Regions from separate parts of the Homo sapiens genome. Here regions 1, 2, 3 and 4 are each linked to region 5. Evidence: promoter capture Hi-C in 16 types of primary human blood cells and fetal thymus (Javierre and others, 2016). All regions are on one chromosome and are shown on one strand. Each heading gives the region's core, a stretch centred on a gene start or on the middle of the fragment in contact. The rest is flanking DNA. Distances are from core to core; before and after follow the strand shown. Region 1 overlaps ZNF234 (zinc finger protein 234). Region 2 holds the start of ZNF224 (zinc finger protein 224). Region 3 overlaps ZNF235 (zinc finger protein 235). Region 4 holds the start of ZNF283 (zinc finger protein 283). Region 5 holds the start of ZNF527 (zinc finger protein 527).

Evidence for each region. Contacts are between HindIII fragments. The CHiCAGO score rates a contact against its expected background, and 5 or more counts as called.
Region 1: a contact is called between a fragment that was not itself captured here and the fragment with the promoter of ZNF527 in region 5, in 2 of 17 cell types (activated CD4 T cells and naive CD8 T cells). The highest score is 6.0, in activated CD4 T cells.
Region 2: a contact is called between the fragment with the promoter of ZNF224 here and the fragment with the promoter of ZNF527 in region 5, in 9 of 17 cell types (non-activated CD4 T cells, total CD4 T cells, total B cells and 6 more). The highest score is 30.4, in non-activated CD4 T cells.
Region 3: a fragment that was not itself captured here is called in contact with the fragment with the promoter of ZNF527 in region 5 in 5 of 17 cell types (total CD4 T cells, naive CD4 T cells, total CD8 T cells and 2 more); the score reaches 8.8 in total CD4 T cells.
Region 4: a contact is called between the fragment with the promoter of ZNF283 here and the fragment with the promoter of ZNF527 in region 5, in 9 of 17 cell types (non-activated CD4 T cells, naive CD8 T cells, total B cells and 6 more). The highest score is 24.0, in non-activated CD4 T cells.

What each region holds. Positions count from the first base shown.
Region 1 is chr19:44,149,369-44,152,068 of GRCh38, reverse strand. ZNF234 (zinc finger protein 234) reads right to left here. Exons shown (of 6, transcript NM_006630.3): 5 at 1,564-1,656. Among named protein-coding and RNA genes, the nearest start is that of ZNF234, 9.2 kb to the right of the region's middle. The HindIII fragment of the contact is 470 bases long and covers 1,139-1,608 here.
Region 2 is chr19:44,093,070-44,095,769 of GRCh38, reverse strand. ZNF224 (zinc finger protein 224) reads right to left here and starts at 1,409. Exons shown (of 6, transcript NM_001321645.3): 1 at 1,240-1,409. RefSeq lists an enhancer at 1,490-1,599. The HindIII fragment of the contact is 10,144 bases long and covers 1-2,700 here.
Region 3 is chr19:44,301,935-44,304,634 of GRCh38, reverse strand. ZNF235 (zinc finger protein 235) reads left to right here. Exons shown (of 5, transcript NM_004234.4): 2 at 1,183-1,245. The coding sequence starts at 1,231. Among named protein-coding and RNA genes, the nearest start is that of ZNF235, 1.7 kb to the left of the region's middle. The HindIII fragment of the contact is 2,785 bases long and covers 44-2,700 here.
Region 4 is chr19:43,825,764-43,828,614 of GRCh38, reverse strand. It overlaps ZNF283 (zinc finger protein 283), which reads right to left and starts at 1,294. Exons shown (of 7, transcript NM_181845.2): 1 at 1,171-1,294; 2 at 334-413. RefSeq lists an enhancer at 1,237-1,436. The HindIII fragment of the contact is 6,325 bases long and covers 1-2,851 here.
Region 5 is chr19:37,369,776-37,372,590 of GRCh38, reverse strand. ZNF527 (zinc finger protein 527) reads right to left here and starts at 1,492. Exons shown (of 5, transcript NM_032453.2): 1 at 1,365-1,492. RefSeq lists a silencer at 1,093-1,402 and enhancers at 1,433-1,742, 1,913-1,962, 1,983-2,122. The HindIII fragment of the contact is 7,295 bases long and covers 1-2,815 here.

The DNA.
Region 1 (2,700 bases), core at 124-2,623, 6.8 Mb before region 5:
GAGAGGATTGTAGGTGAGTTTTTCCAGGCAAAGACAAGGGCAAATAAGGGCTTTGAGGCAGAAGTATCTGTAGTTGGCAGAATAATCAACCCCCAAAGAATCCACGTTCTAATTCTCATCCTAAGAATATGTCAGGTTATGACAAAGGGTAATTAAGGTTGCAGAGGGAATTAAGGTTGCAAATCAGCTGAACTAAAAATAGAAGGCAATTCTACATTATCCAAGTGGGCCCAGTGCAATTAGAGGGTCCTTATAAAGTGGAAAAAGGATGAAGAGAGAATAAAAGGGAAATGCAACTATAGAAGAATGATCAGAGAAGCACTGTTGCTGGCTGTGAAGAGGGCCACAAGCTATGAAATTTGGCAGCCCCTACACACTGATAAGGGAACGATACAGATTCTCCTTCCCTAGAGCCTCCGGGAAGAAACAGGGACGGGCTGACAGCTTGATTTCAGCGTAGTGAGACCCATGTTGGACTTCAAACAAAGAACTGAAAGACAATACATTTTTATCATTTAATCCACTCAGTTTGGGGTAATATGTTACAGCAGCAGTAAGAAATGCAGTGTCCAGGTCGGGCACAGTGGCTCATGCCTGTAATCCCAGCACTTTGGGAGGCTGAGGCAGGCGGGTCACTTGAGGTCAGGAGACCAGCCTGGCCAACATGGTGAAACCCTGTCTCTATAAAAAATACAAAAATCCGCCGGACGTGGTTACAGGCACCTGTAATCCCAGCTACTTGGGAGGCTGAGGCAGAAGAATCGCTTGAACCTGGGAGGCGGAGGTGGCAGTGAGCTGAGATTGCACCACTATACTCCAGCCTGGGCGACAGAGCGAGCAATGTCCTTACCAGGTCTGGGAAATAGCAGGGAGGATGATGTGGCTGGAAAAGATGGAGCAAGAGGTAGAATACAGGAGATGTAGTCAGAGACGCAGAGGAGGATGAACAGCAGACCACGCAGGACTCTATAAGCTCCTTTAAGAGACTTCAACTTTAAGAAAAATAAGAAGCCATTCAGAGTATTTTTTTTTTTTTTAAGATGGAGTGTCGCTCTGTTGCCCAGGCTGGAGTGTAGCGGTGCGATCTTGGCTCACTGCAACCTGCCTCTTGGGTTCAAGCGATTCTCCTGTCTAAGCTTCCTGAGTAGCTGGGACTACAGGCGCTGGCCACCACGCCTGGCTAATTTTTGTATTTTTAGTAGAGACGAGGTTTTGCCATGTTAGCCAGGCTGGTCTCAAACTCCTGATCCTCCTGCTTTGGCCCCCAAAGTGCTGGATTACAGGCATGAGCCACTGTGCCCAGCCCTGTACAAGGTCTTAAGTAGAGGAATGGCAATCTGACTTACATTTCCAAAGGATCACTTTAGCTATGATATGGAGAACGCCTGTAGGAGAACATACTTTATACTATTGAGGGTGGATGCAGTGCGCCCAGTACGAAGGCTGTTGCAATCATCCAGGACAGAGGTTTGGCAATTTGGACCCGATGGCAGCAAGAGCAGGGGAGAGAAGTACAACAGATGGACAATCACGTACAAGGACTCTTAGCTGCTTGGTTCTTACCTGATTTCCCTTTTCTTTGAGTTGCTGTCTTCATTATATCAAGCTTTTTTTCCTTTTCTAAAAGGAATACATCATGTTTGAAGGGGTGATGCCCTAGAACACGCAAAGTCACATATTTAAAACAAACACACTAAAGGTACAACTGAACTTACTGGCAATTTGAATTACTACTGTATACTGATCAATCAATCAAAAGTAGTGTTTTCAAACACTTTTAGAAGAACCTAATGAAGAAATATCAGTATTTCAAGATCCAGACACATAGACATAAATATGTGCTATAAAAACCTATTTCTGAAAGGAGTTAGTTCGCTTGCCTTAGGTAGACAGCAAGGGAAGGGTCTTTGGAGAGCCCCTGACCCATGGGTTAGTGTCTTATTTTTATATAACATAAAAAGCAGCCTGGAAAAAAAATTTAAGCTGCAGGCACCAATAAGGGAACTACCACAGGGTGTTGTGCCTGGAGACATGCCCACGGCTGCACAGATAGAAAAACCTCCAGCCCATTTGGATAAAAGCTTGTACATACCTCCAGCTCGCTCAGATAAAGGAGCAAGGCCTGGCATAAGAATGCCTTTGTCCTCTGTATAGTCAGCGGGCTCCCAGGAAAAGGTTTCTTCTCCTTTTGTGGGCATAGGTACAGTGGGCTCCAGTGGGTTCCAGTGGGCACTCTACTTTCTTTTTTTCAAACTGTAAGTCCGGTCTCTATATATCTTTACTTCAACCTGATTGGTCCTGGGCCAAGGTTCCGGGCCAAGCTAAGTCACACTTTCTCCAAAATAGCCCACAAACTAAGCACATTCCTTCCCCTTCCCAGTCCATAAAAACCCCAAACCCCTGCCTCATAGGGGGAATTCCATTTGGGTCCCCCTCTCTGCTGGCAAAAAGCTTTCTTCTTTTGCTTATTAAACCTTCACTCTAACCTCACATTTCTGTCTGCACTCATTAATCTTCTTAAAAATAAAACAAAAAACTCCAGGTGTTATCTCAAACAACAGAAAAACTGTTACATCTTGGTGCATTACTAAAATTACATTTCTAACCAATGTCTTTTTTTTTTGAGACAGTCTCACTCTGTCACCCAGGCTGGAGTGCAGTGGCGTGATCTAGGCTCACTACAACCTCTGCCTCCTGGAT
Region 2 (2,700 bases), core at 160-2,659, 6.7 Mb before region 5:
GTAATTATTTTTTAGTAGAGATGCGGTTTCACCATGTTGGCCAGGCTGGTCTCGAACTCCTGACCTCGTGATCCGCCCGCCTGGACCTCCCAAAGTGCTGGGATTACAGGCGTAAGCCACCGCGCCAGGCCCATTTTGTTCTTAATAAAGAAAAATAGAATGCTGTACAATGACATGGTTCTATAAGAATACAAAATATTTGTAATGATTGAAACAAAATAGTTGACAACATTTTTAGAAACTCAGAAAATTTCAAGCCCCTAAGTCTTGCTTTCCCCACCTAAGTCCAACTAGTTCCTCTGCCTCAGTGACAACGTATCCCAAGAGAAGATCAAATCAGGCTCTGACCCAGACTGCTTAGGTTCCAACCCCAGCTCCACCTCTCACTAGTCGGGTGCCTATGCGCTCTGTGTCTCACTTTCGTTTTTAAAATAGAAAAAAGCAATACTTCTCCACAGAGCCACGGTGTGGCGTAAATTTATTTGTATAAAGCCCTTAGAATGAAGTTACTAATTAAGACTTAATTATTATCGACCCCCATGCCCGAGGACACAACCTATACACTCTCGGTTGGGGTGAGCATCTCGGTCAAAGAGCCAAGGACCACTCACGTAGAGCTTTGCCCTCAGAAGCCAAGAAGTCCCTCCCTGCAGCTCTTCTGGAAAGGTCGGGTTGGGGAACGAGAAAGCTGTGAAACACCTTGACCGCGTCGCCGTCCCCCATAAAAGTTAAATGCTCCTTTCCCTTCATGAAAGTGGACGCAACCCTCGCTCTCCTAAAAAGAGGTCAGAAGGCTTCCGGGATCATCCAGCGTCCTGCAGGGATCAGGGAGAAGGGCCGAGGCCCCTGCAGCTGGAGCTCTGACCCCACCCGGTCCTTCGTGGGAAATTAACAAGAGACCACCAGTCACCAAGTGACAGGGACTGCTTTAAGGCTCTCATTTGTGTTACCTCTTCCAGTTCCCAAAACGATTCCATTAGGATGGCCCTAAAGTCCCCATTTTAAAGAACAGTAACGGGAAACCCAAGGAGATTAACACCCCAACGTTATATCGAGAAGAAGTGGCCACGCGCGTGGGGTGCAGGGGGCGGAGTGGGCGAGCTCAGAGCCCCGGAAACCCTGAAACCAGGTGAGACGCGACCCAACCAAGTACCAATGCCCCCGGGAAGCGAGGACAGACCCAAGCCCAAGAAGGTGCCACGGACGAGAACGCAAACAGCGGCCCTTGCCCCTCCAAACCTCTACTCTCCGACGAGGCCCCTTTTCCCCTAATTCGATCACCAGTTCTTTGAGGATCCAATGCGTAGGTCCAGGAAATTCAGAAGGGCCTGCAACGCGCGGAACTGCCCCAAACTATCGCGGAAAAACTGCAGCAACCTCAGTCCCCGAGCGGAAGTGTCCGCGACTCCACCGAATGTTTGGACTCCACTTCCCAGAATTCCCCGGGACCCGCCAGCCGGAGCCAAACTGACCGCGACTCCACTGAGCGTCTGGACTACACTTCCCAGAATTCCCTGGGACCCAACTGCCGGAGCTAAACCGACCGCGATTCCACTGAGGGTCTGGACTGTACTCCTGCAGCATTACACTCAAAGGGAAGTGTTGACGACTACTGGGAAGCCCTTGACCACTCTTCCCACGGGGAACGAATCTCGTACCCCCGAGCGCCTGTTGGGAAATGTGGACTTCTACCCTGAGAGTCGTCCTTCCCTCTCCCTGGGTGCCTAAGAGAAAATACCGTATAGAAAGGAATTCCTGAAGTCTAAACCCCTCTAGTGAGGACAGGAGTGTTACTGGAAAGGGAACAAGCGAGATGATACACTCTTCAAATAAGTTTTGCCAGTGGTAAGAAATGGCATGTAGTTTTAATTTATAACTCTTGTAAAGATGGCATATTCTTGCATATTTTCAGGTGTCATTATTACATTTTTTGTAAATTGTCCAGATGTTTTGCCCACTTTCTTATTGAGTTTTTGGTTTTATCCCTCACTTTTCAAGCACTGTTCTTATATTCATGATATTAACATTTTATCTCGCAAATATTTTCTCAACAAAAACGTTTTTTTTTATTGTTTTATCTATGCAAAACATTTTAATGTATTTTATTATTTAAAACATCTCTATTGAGGTGTAATGCACAAAACGTGAAATTCACCATTTTAGGATATATGTAGTACAAATAAAAAGTTAGGAAACATTTTCATCACCCCAAAAACCCCATACCCACTAAGCAGTCACTGTCTAACACTAATCTCTGTCCTATTGAATTACCTATTGTGGACATTTCATATAAATGGAATTATACATTATGGAACCTTTTGTTTCTGACACCTTTCACTTAGCATCCTGCTTCTTTTTTTTTTTTTTGAGACGGAATCTCAAAAAAAGTGCCAGGCTGGAGTGCAGTGGCACGATCTTAGCTCACTGCAACCTCCGCCTCCCGGGTTCAAGCGATTCTCCTGTCTCAGCCTCCCGAGTAGCTGGGACTACAGGCGCGTGCCACCACGCCTGGCTAATTTTTCTGTATTTTTAGTAGAGACGGGGTTTCACCGTGTTAGCCAGGATGGTCTCGATCTCTTGACCTCGTGATCCTCCCGCCTCGGCCTCCCAAAGTGCTGGGATTACAGGCGTGAGCCACCGCGCCCTGCCAGCATACTGCTTTTAAAGTTCATCCACATCACAGCATGTACCAGTACTTCA
Region 3 (2,700 bases), core at 187-2,686, 6.9 Mb before region 5:
GATGTTCTTGTGAGAATTAAATGAGGTTTTATAGAAATAAGCTTAAAACCAGTGCATAGGAAAATGTTGGATGCCACCGTTAATTCTGTTATAATACTGAAAAAGACGCCTGTTGTTTGGAAACTCCTCTGAGTCTAGGAGATCCAGCTACGGAGCCGCTGTCCCTTCTCTAATCCTTGCCTGATGTGGGGCCGTTCCTGGATTCTTGGACTTTTCTAGCCTCTTGTTTAGGAGACAGGAATTAGTTCCAGCGGAGCCTGGGGAATGTCCTGTGTGTTTTATCTCAGATAAGCGATCGTCATTACGGATTTGCAGAGTGCCAGAGGTGTCCTGAGGCCCTAATAAATGTTCAGTATAATGTGGTTATAACCAATAATCCCGTGTGGTTAACTTAAGTGTAACACCATTTCTTAGAGAGTTTTAGGTTTTTATTAGTCATTGCTTTCATGCATGTGGAAAAAGAGACTTTCTTGAGGCTCCTCCAGCTTAGTAACATTTGCAAGTAATTACATCTGTTGGAGGAAAAAAAAACCTGTGGCAGTTTAACTATCATTACCAACGGAACTAATTATGTTAGACAACCAATCACAGTTACAGACTTTTCTGAGGGTAATGGTAACTCACAGGACAGAGCAATTATTTTTGAGTTCTGGGTTTCTTAAAAGATTCATTTTCTAGAAAGCATACTCAAAAGGGCAGTTTTATGAAGCATAATAGCACTTGCTTGTCAGAAGCTGCAGGAAATAGAGAATACAGGCATTATTATTGTCCCCATTCACAGGTAACTGAATTAAGGCACAGAGAGATTAATAATTCGCTTAAGGTTTATACTGCTGATCAGTTGAAAATAGGTAGAAATGCCAAAATTTGAAGCCAGGCATTTTGGCTCTGTTACATTCCCCTGCCTGTCTGTGTCTCATTTCCTTGGAAACTAAAGTTCAGAAGGAGTACACAGAGAGCTGTATTTGATTTAGGTCTGTTAATATGAAATGTTCATGAACAAAAGCAGCTGGTTGAGGGGGCCGAGGGGTAGCTGGGAGCTAGCTCCCGTTCTCCTCACTAAGCCGTGTGCAACTGTGTCTGCCTAGAGACAGGGGGACCTTTCTCTGAAGTGTCACATAAAAGTGCCATGGTGACTAATGCCATCCCTAACCTATCTCATGATGCCTTTCCCTCCCTCAGGTTCACTTCCCCGGAACTCTGCCTTTTCCCAGAAGGAGGAGGGGAAAAATGACCAAGTTCCAGGTAAGTTTGGTTTGCCTTTGTGTTTCTTAAAATGACATCTCATTTCACAAAGATTGGACACATTTTTCCTGTTTGGGAACAGTAAAAGGGAACGAAAGGCACTTGGAATGTTGTTATATGCCAGGTTGTTGCCTTTTATTTCAATATAATAGTATAAAAATTAACAGAGAGATATATATATATCTGTTAATTTCTAAAATATATTTCTATATAATTATATATTTATATATACGTATATATTTTATATTTATATACAAATATATATGTATATATTTATAAGAAATATACGTATATTTGTATATATGTATTATATATACAAATATATACGTATATTTTATATAAATGTATACAATATATACGTATATTTTATATAAATATATACGTATATATGTATATATTTATATATAAATATATACATATATACGTATATATTTATATATACAAATATGTATATATAAATACATACAAATATATACGTATATATTTATATACAAATATGTATATATAAACACATACAAATATATATAAGTATATATTTACTCATATATAAGTATATAGTTATATATATATAAGTATATATATACTCATATATAAGTATATAGTTTTATATATATATATATATGTAAATATAAATCTCTATATATATTTAGAGACAGAGTCTCACCCTGTTTCCCAGGCTGGAGTGCAGTGGCTCACTGCAGCCTGGGCCTGGGCTCAAGAGATCCTCCCACCTTAGCCTCTTGAGCAGGTGGGACCACGGGCACACACCAGCACAACCAGCTAATTATTTTTAGTAGAGATGGGGTGTTCCTGTGTTTCCCAGGCTGGTCTTGAACTTCTGGGCTTAAGAGATCCTCCTGCCGTGGCCTAACAGATATATTTTTTAAATGGAAAACAACTCTCACATTACAAATATGTTTACAAATCATTTCCCACATTCCTTTTCATTTGCACTCAACATATATAATCATACTTTAGGTACAATTTCGAATTTTTTAAATTTAATTTTATATCACCTGCTTTTTAAATGATCACATCATTTTCCATCATTTACTTGTTTTTATTTTTCCTCATTCTCCATGTTTATGTAATCTATGAATTTTGCCATTTTAAGGACATTGACAATAGCAGTTTTTCCCCATGTAACTTCTCTTCCCAAATAAGGATTCTGAGAATTCTACCATTTTTTTAATCTTTAAAGTTTTAGACTCATTTTCTCATACACAGCACCTCATTTTATGGAGAGAATAAAGTATAGCTTAGTGCAGTAGCATCTGACTGATGCCAAACTCAGAGAAAGTAATTTTAGTTTCAAACGAGCTAGATTTCTTTCTTTAATTCTAAGTAAAACCTTGTATTATAGTTAAGTATCTGTTTTATTCATTAACATGTTATTATATTTTAAAGATGCACATACTTAGTTTAAAAGTCTTATAGCACTAGGAGATTCACCAG
Region 4 (2,851 bases), core at 45-2,544, 6.5 Mb before region 5:
TATAACACCACCTAATTACTAATCTCTTCAAATAATCATAGTATAAAATAATGCTCTAATAGCAATCTACAAGAGGTGCCTTTCTATAACTCTTCAGTGCATCATAATGCACTGAAGTATTTGAACAATTTGCCATATGAACAGGTGGGTAAGAATTGTGGAGAAGAACAATAGGGGGCCACTGGGAGGAAATATGTACCAGCATGGCGGGTCATGTAACTGGGAAAACCCAGTCAAGATATTTCAGGCCAAGGAAAGAAAATGTTCTCATGACCTAGAAGCAAAGGTAATTGTATGTGTATGTATTTAAAAAGTATGTATAAAAAACCTCACCTGAACCTTGATTTCTAAACATGCAAAAATCCTTTTCTCCTCTTCAAACTCCTTCTTAGAAATCTGGCAACCTGGCAGCACTGGGGGAAAAAACAGTAACATGAGACATCAGCATTTCTAGCGCGTCACAGACTTAATTAAAAAAGAAAAAGAAGAGCAAAACACCCTCTGGGGCCACTTCTGCCTTCATCCACACAAAACCAAACGGAATGAAAAGGGAGGCTAGAGTCTGTCTCTGTGTTGAGGGCAATTCTTGGGGACAGAGGTCTGCTTGCAATGGCTCTGAAACATGTAGCTCACCACCAAAGAGCTCCTAGAGGCCCCTCTTCTAGGAATCCCACCTCTAGAACTTCCCCATCAGGTCTTGACAAGATCCTGTCCCGCGGACACTTCCAGATCTAAAATTCTCATCCTTCTTGCTTGAAACGTTCATTATGGGGCTTAGCATAGACTTCTTTCTTGCGGTCATTTAATTGTGGCAGGCCCGAAGACAGGCTAAAGGGAACCTAGAGCATTTGGTCAAAGCAAATCACATTTACAAATACGGCCACGCACCCTGTCAGCCCGTCACACATTCACAACTGCACCCACCTCCGTGGGGACACGCCCCGTCCCTGCCACGCCGTCTGAGACACACTGTCCCTCGGCTGCTCGCGTGCACACAGGCTTGAGGATCCGGACACGACACGCTCTGTCCGTGACCCAGCCCTCCCCACCTCCAGCACCCCCGATGCCACCCCCACCCTCACTGCCGGTTCCAGTCGGGCCCCAGTAAAGCCAGCCGAGCCCTCCCAGCTTCACCCGGGCTGATTACTTCTACAGACACGACCAACTCACCATGCAGAGTCCAAGAACCTTAAGGACACCGGAAAAGGACCCAGAGACCTGTGGTTAGTTTGGACCCAGAGGCTGATGGGAAACAAGAGCCTGGAAATGCTCGCAGGCTGGGAGAGGAGCTTCTGGCAGGCAAGCTCGCCCCGCCCCTAAAAGGCCTGTGCCCCGGAGACTTCTGGGAAATGTAGTCCACAGCGGCAGAGTCTCCGGAAGTTGAAACCTGGACAGCAGGGATGCTCCCAGCATGCAACTTGGCTTCACCTGTCAAAGGCGCTTTTTTCGAAGACGCCCGGGAGCTCTTGCTTTTGCTTGAGGGTCTTTGGTGTTGACTGAGAGCGAATTAAAAGGTTCTCAGCTTTCGCTAAGGAACGCATTCTGGAGTCTAGAACAGGCGAAGATGGGACTGGGGTGTCTGGGGACTTAGACGTGAGCGAGCAAGGGAATCCGGGGTAAGTTCGCTGGAAATGACCTGCGCGACACTACCAGTTTACCTGGGTATGAGCGCCTGGAACAGTGTCTGGCAATTGAACAGATGGGTGTGTCTTGCTGTGAGGGAGTTTCTTAGTTCGATTCGGTGTCTGGGACCCTGCGTGGACCTGTTTATGTTCATGGGATGTTTTCTAAATTTATGCCTGTGTGAGTCTGTTTTATTAGGTGTGAGATGAACTGTGTTACAGATTTTATATGCCGCTGTTGAAAGACAACAATAAGTGGTAGTGAGTGGATATTGTGACCGTGGAGACTTATGGCAGTGCAAAGGCGGCCATAAACAATGCACAAGCAATCCAGCATGGCTGTGTTCCAATAAAACTTGATGGATTATAAAATTTGAATCTCATTTTTTATAGAGTATGAAACCATTTATTCTGAAGCACACACTCATACTCCAAAAACAATACTATATATTCCCTCTCTCTCTCTCCTGTGTGTTTGCGTGTGTGTGTGTGTGGGTGTGTGAGAGAGAGAAAGGTTTTAAAGGAGACAACTAACTGATTCTGAGGTTAGGGCAAAAAGATTGGGGCTGTGGTTGGTGTGGTAAGAACCTTTGGATATAAATACTTTTTTAAAAAAGAATTGTCTAAAAATATTAAAGCGAAATTTTATATTAAAACTAACAGAAAGAAAAGGAAGTTACTTTTTAGGGGCTCTTTCTGGTCACTGATATCACCTCTCTCATCCTCTGCCATCTCTCACCTCCTGGTCTCTCTTGCTTATCAAGAGAAGACTAGAGCTCTTGGATCCCAGCTTTTCCCCTGCCTCAGCTGAGGCCACTACCCTGGTTGACTCCCATGGTGACATGGATGCCTCATCCAGTATCGTGGGTCTGAGTCCTCATCTGCAGGGTCCTTGAGCTTTCCTCGGCACCCATCCCCGTTTCCCATCTGGGACTTCATTATCATCAGCATCTGCTCCACCTCCAAAACCACTGGTGGAAGCAGCCTCCTCTCTTCCCATGTTACTTGCTCAATGACTCCCACAAGTACTACTCTGAATATTTTGGGGGTCTGATTTTTTTTTAATTTTTTATTTCCATAGGTTTTTGGGAAACAGGTGGTGTTTGGTTACATGAGTAACTTCTTCAGTGGTGATTTGTGAGATTTTGGTGCACCCATCACCTGAACAGTGTACATGGCACCCAATTTTTAGTCTTTTATCCCTCACCCCCTTTCCACCCTTTCCCCCA
Region 5 (2,815 bases), core at 243-2,742:
TGAGGTGGGAGGCTTGATTGAACCCAGGAGGTAGAGGGTGCTGTGAGCCGAGATTGCACCACTGCACTCTAGCCTACAGGACAGAGCAAGACTCTGTCTCAAAAAAAAAAAAAAAAAAAAAAAGAAAAGAAAAGAAAAGAAAAGAAAGGGACAACTGTGGTTGACCTAGAATTCAGTATACATCACCCCCTAATTTCACCCCCTAATTCTGGACTACTTTGCACTAGGCAACTCAGTCCCTAGCAGTTATTTCCTTAGTGTAGTGCAGCTTGAAATTGTCCATAAAAACTGCAGCAGGGCGCAGCGCCTCACGCCTGTAATCCCAGCACTGTGGGAGGCTCTGGTGGGCGGATCATGAGGTCAGGAGTTGGAGACCAGCCTGGCCAAACATGGTGAAACCTCGTCTCTACTAAAAATACAAAAACTAGCTGGGCGTGGTGGTGCGCGCCTGTAATCCCAGCTACTTGGGAGGCTGAGGCAGGAGAATCACTTGAACCTGGGAGGCGGAGGTTGCAGTGAGCCGAGATCGCATCATTGCACTCCAGCCTGGGCAATAGAGTGAGACTCCATCTCAAGAGAAAAAAAAAAAAAAAAGCGAGACCTCTAGAGCTAAACTGCTTGGGTTTGAGTTCTGGTGCTGTCACTTGTTAACTGTGTGAACTTGGGTAATTCTAATATTTCTGTGCTTCATACATCAATCCCACAATCTCATATATACACACAAATTCTCACCCAATCACAAATGTATAGAGTCACACAAACACACCCATAATCTCACACAATACACAGCCACATAAGCACAAAGATAGATGGTAACATACAACTACACCAACAGAGATAAACAATCACACACAATCACACACAAAGTAGCATACCACAGAAGTCACACATCTTGTCACAATTACTGATACAAAACTATACCTGCGGAGACAGATGGTCATAGTCGCACAATCACACTTGCTGTCACACACATTCAAACGCAATTGTATCCGCAGAAACAGGTGGTCACATAACCACACACATGCATTTACACAAACACACAATGTCACACCCCAGTCTCTCATAAACACATACACAGCTACACCTGCAGAGACAGTCACACACAAACACACATATTCACAGTTTCACCCCCAGACACAGATGGTTACAGTCACACACAAGCGGGCGCACGCGCACAAACACACACACACAGTGACACAAGATCACATTCTGTCACACCCGCAGCCTGTCACATAGTTGGTAATACAGTGAAACACACACGGCCTCCCCAGCGACTCCTGCCGGGTTCCCATCCCTGGCGCGGCCGGGCCACCCGGAGCCCGCCCTTGACTTCCCGCTCCCGCCCGGGGCCCGGCCCCACTCACCTCCCGGCGCCGCGGGCTCTGCAAACGGGCCCCGCGACCGAGACCCGCGACGTCACCTCCCAGAATCCTCCGCGAGGAGGAGCGAGGCGAGGACTGAGGCATGCAGGACTCTGAGCTCTGCGAGATCTGAACCAGCGACACCGCGTTCCCCATGGACCCCGCGAACCACGAGCCCCAGAACGCTTTGCGCCACGGCCGTCATCGTTGAACTACATCTCCCAGAGAACCCCGCGGCCCCCTCCACTGCGCGCCTGCGCCACGGGGGCAGGTACCGGAGAGGGCTGTGTGCGGTCGTAGGCTCTCCAGTGACCTTGAGCTGCTGTGTTGGGGAAAGCGGCCAGGCTGCGCGCGGGGCTGACTGGTTGAATGCTTGGGTGTGGTGGTTCGTGTGTGACTGTTGCTGCACACCTTTATGCTTGCCGACGAAAGGAGCGGCGGATTTTGTCAGTGCAGGGAGCTTCTGTATTTTAAATCACGTCCCGTGATTGTGGGTAGCTGAATGTGAAAGTGATTGTGGATGAAAGAGACTGTGGCTGACATTGGGGGTGACCGTTTCTGTTACTGTGAGGATACCACTGATCCGATGTGTATCTGACTGTCTCCTGGTCTTACTGTTCCTTCACCCCCATCTCCTGCCATGGGCGGGGTCTGTGGTATCTTTTATTGAGGCAATCTCGGCGCTCACTGCAACCTCCGCCTCCCGGGTTCAAGCGATTCTCTTGCCTCAGCCTCCTGAGGAGCTGGGATTACAGGCACCTGCCACCACGCCCAGCTAATTTTTGTATTTTTAGTAGGGATGGGGTTTCACCATGTTGGCCAGGATGGTCTTCATCTCCTGAACTTGTGATCCACCTGCCTCGGCCTCCCCAAGTGCTGGGGTTACAGGCATGAGCCATCGCACCCGGCCTATTTTATTATTATTATTATTTCTCAATTGGTCAAAATAATATATTTAACATTTTAATATTATTAAACATACAAAAGGCCACACTTTGGCCCTCCTCTAGTCAAGCAGTTTCCTTCCTGGTGAAAGTCCATAGGCAGAAACATGCCTGCAAAGATCTCACAACCTTCTTTCAGACCATGCTCTGGGTATCCAAATCCCCAGGATTTCCTGTTCAAATGGACTCCAGCCTGCTTCCAGAGCCTGTATCTCCTCTGTGTCCAAAGACCCTTCCCTTGATCTGTCTTCCAAAGGTGGAATGTGCTGCCTATCCACAAAATGTGGCCAAATGAGAGCAATTTGGTAAGGCTAGACAGAGCTTAGATATGCAAGCTGGAGTGTCCACATGTGGGAATAGAAGACCTCTTACGATGTGGGACAAGGATGGCAGTGGGAACAGAAGGGGACTGGCTGGGGACCTCCATCTGTACTGTTGACCCAGGTCTCTACATGTCAATGACAGGCTCATTTATGTATAAACTATTTTGGAGACCAATGGTCTTATGAT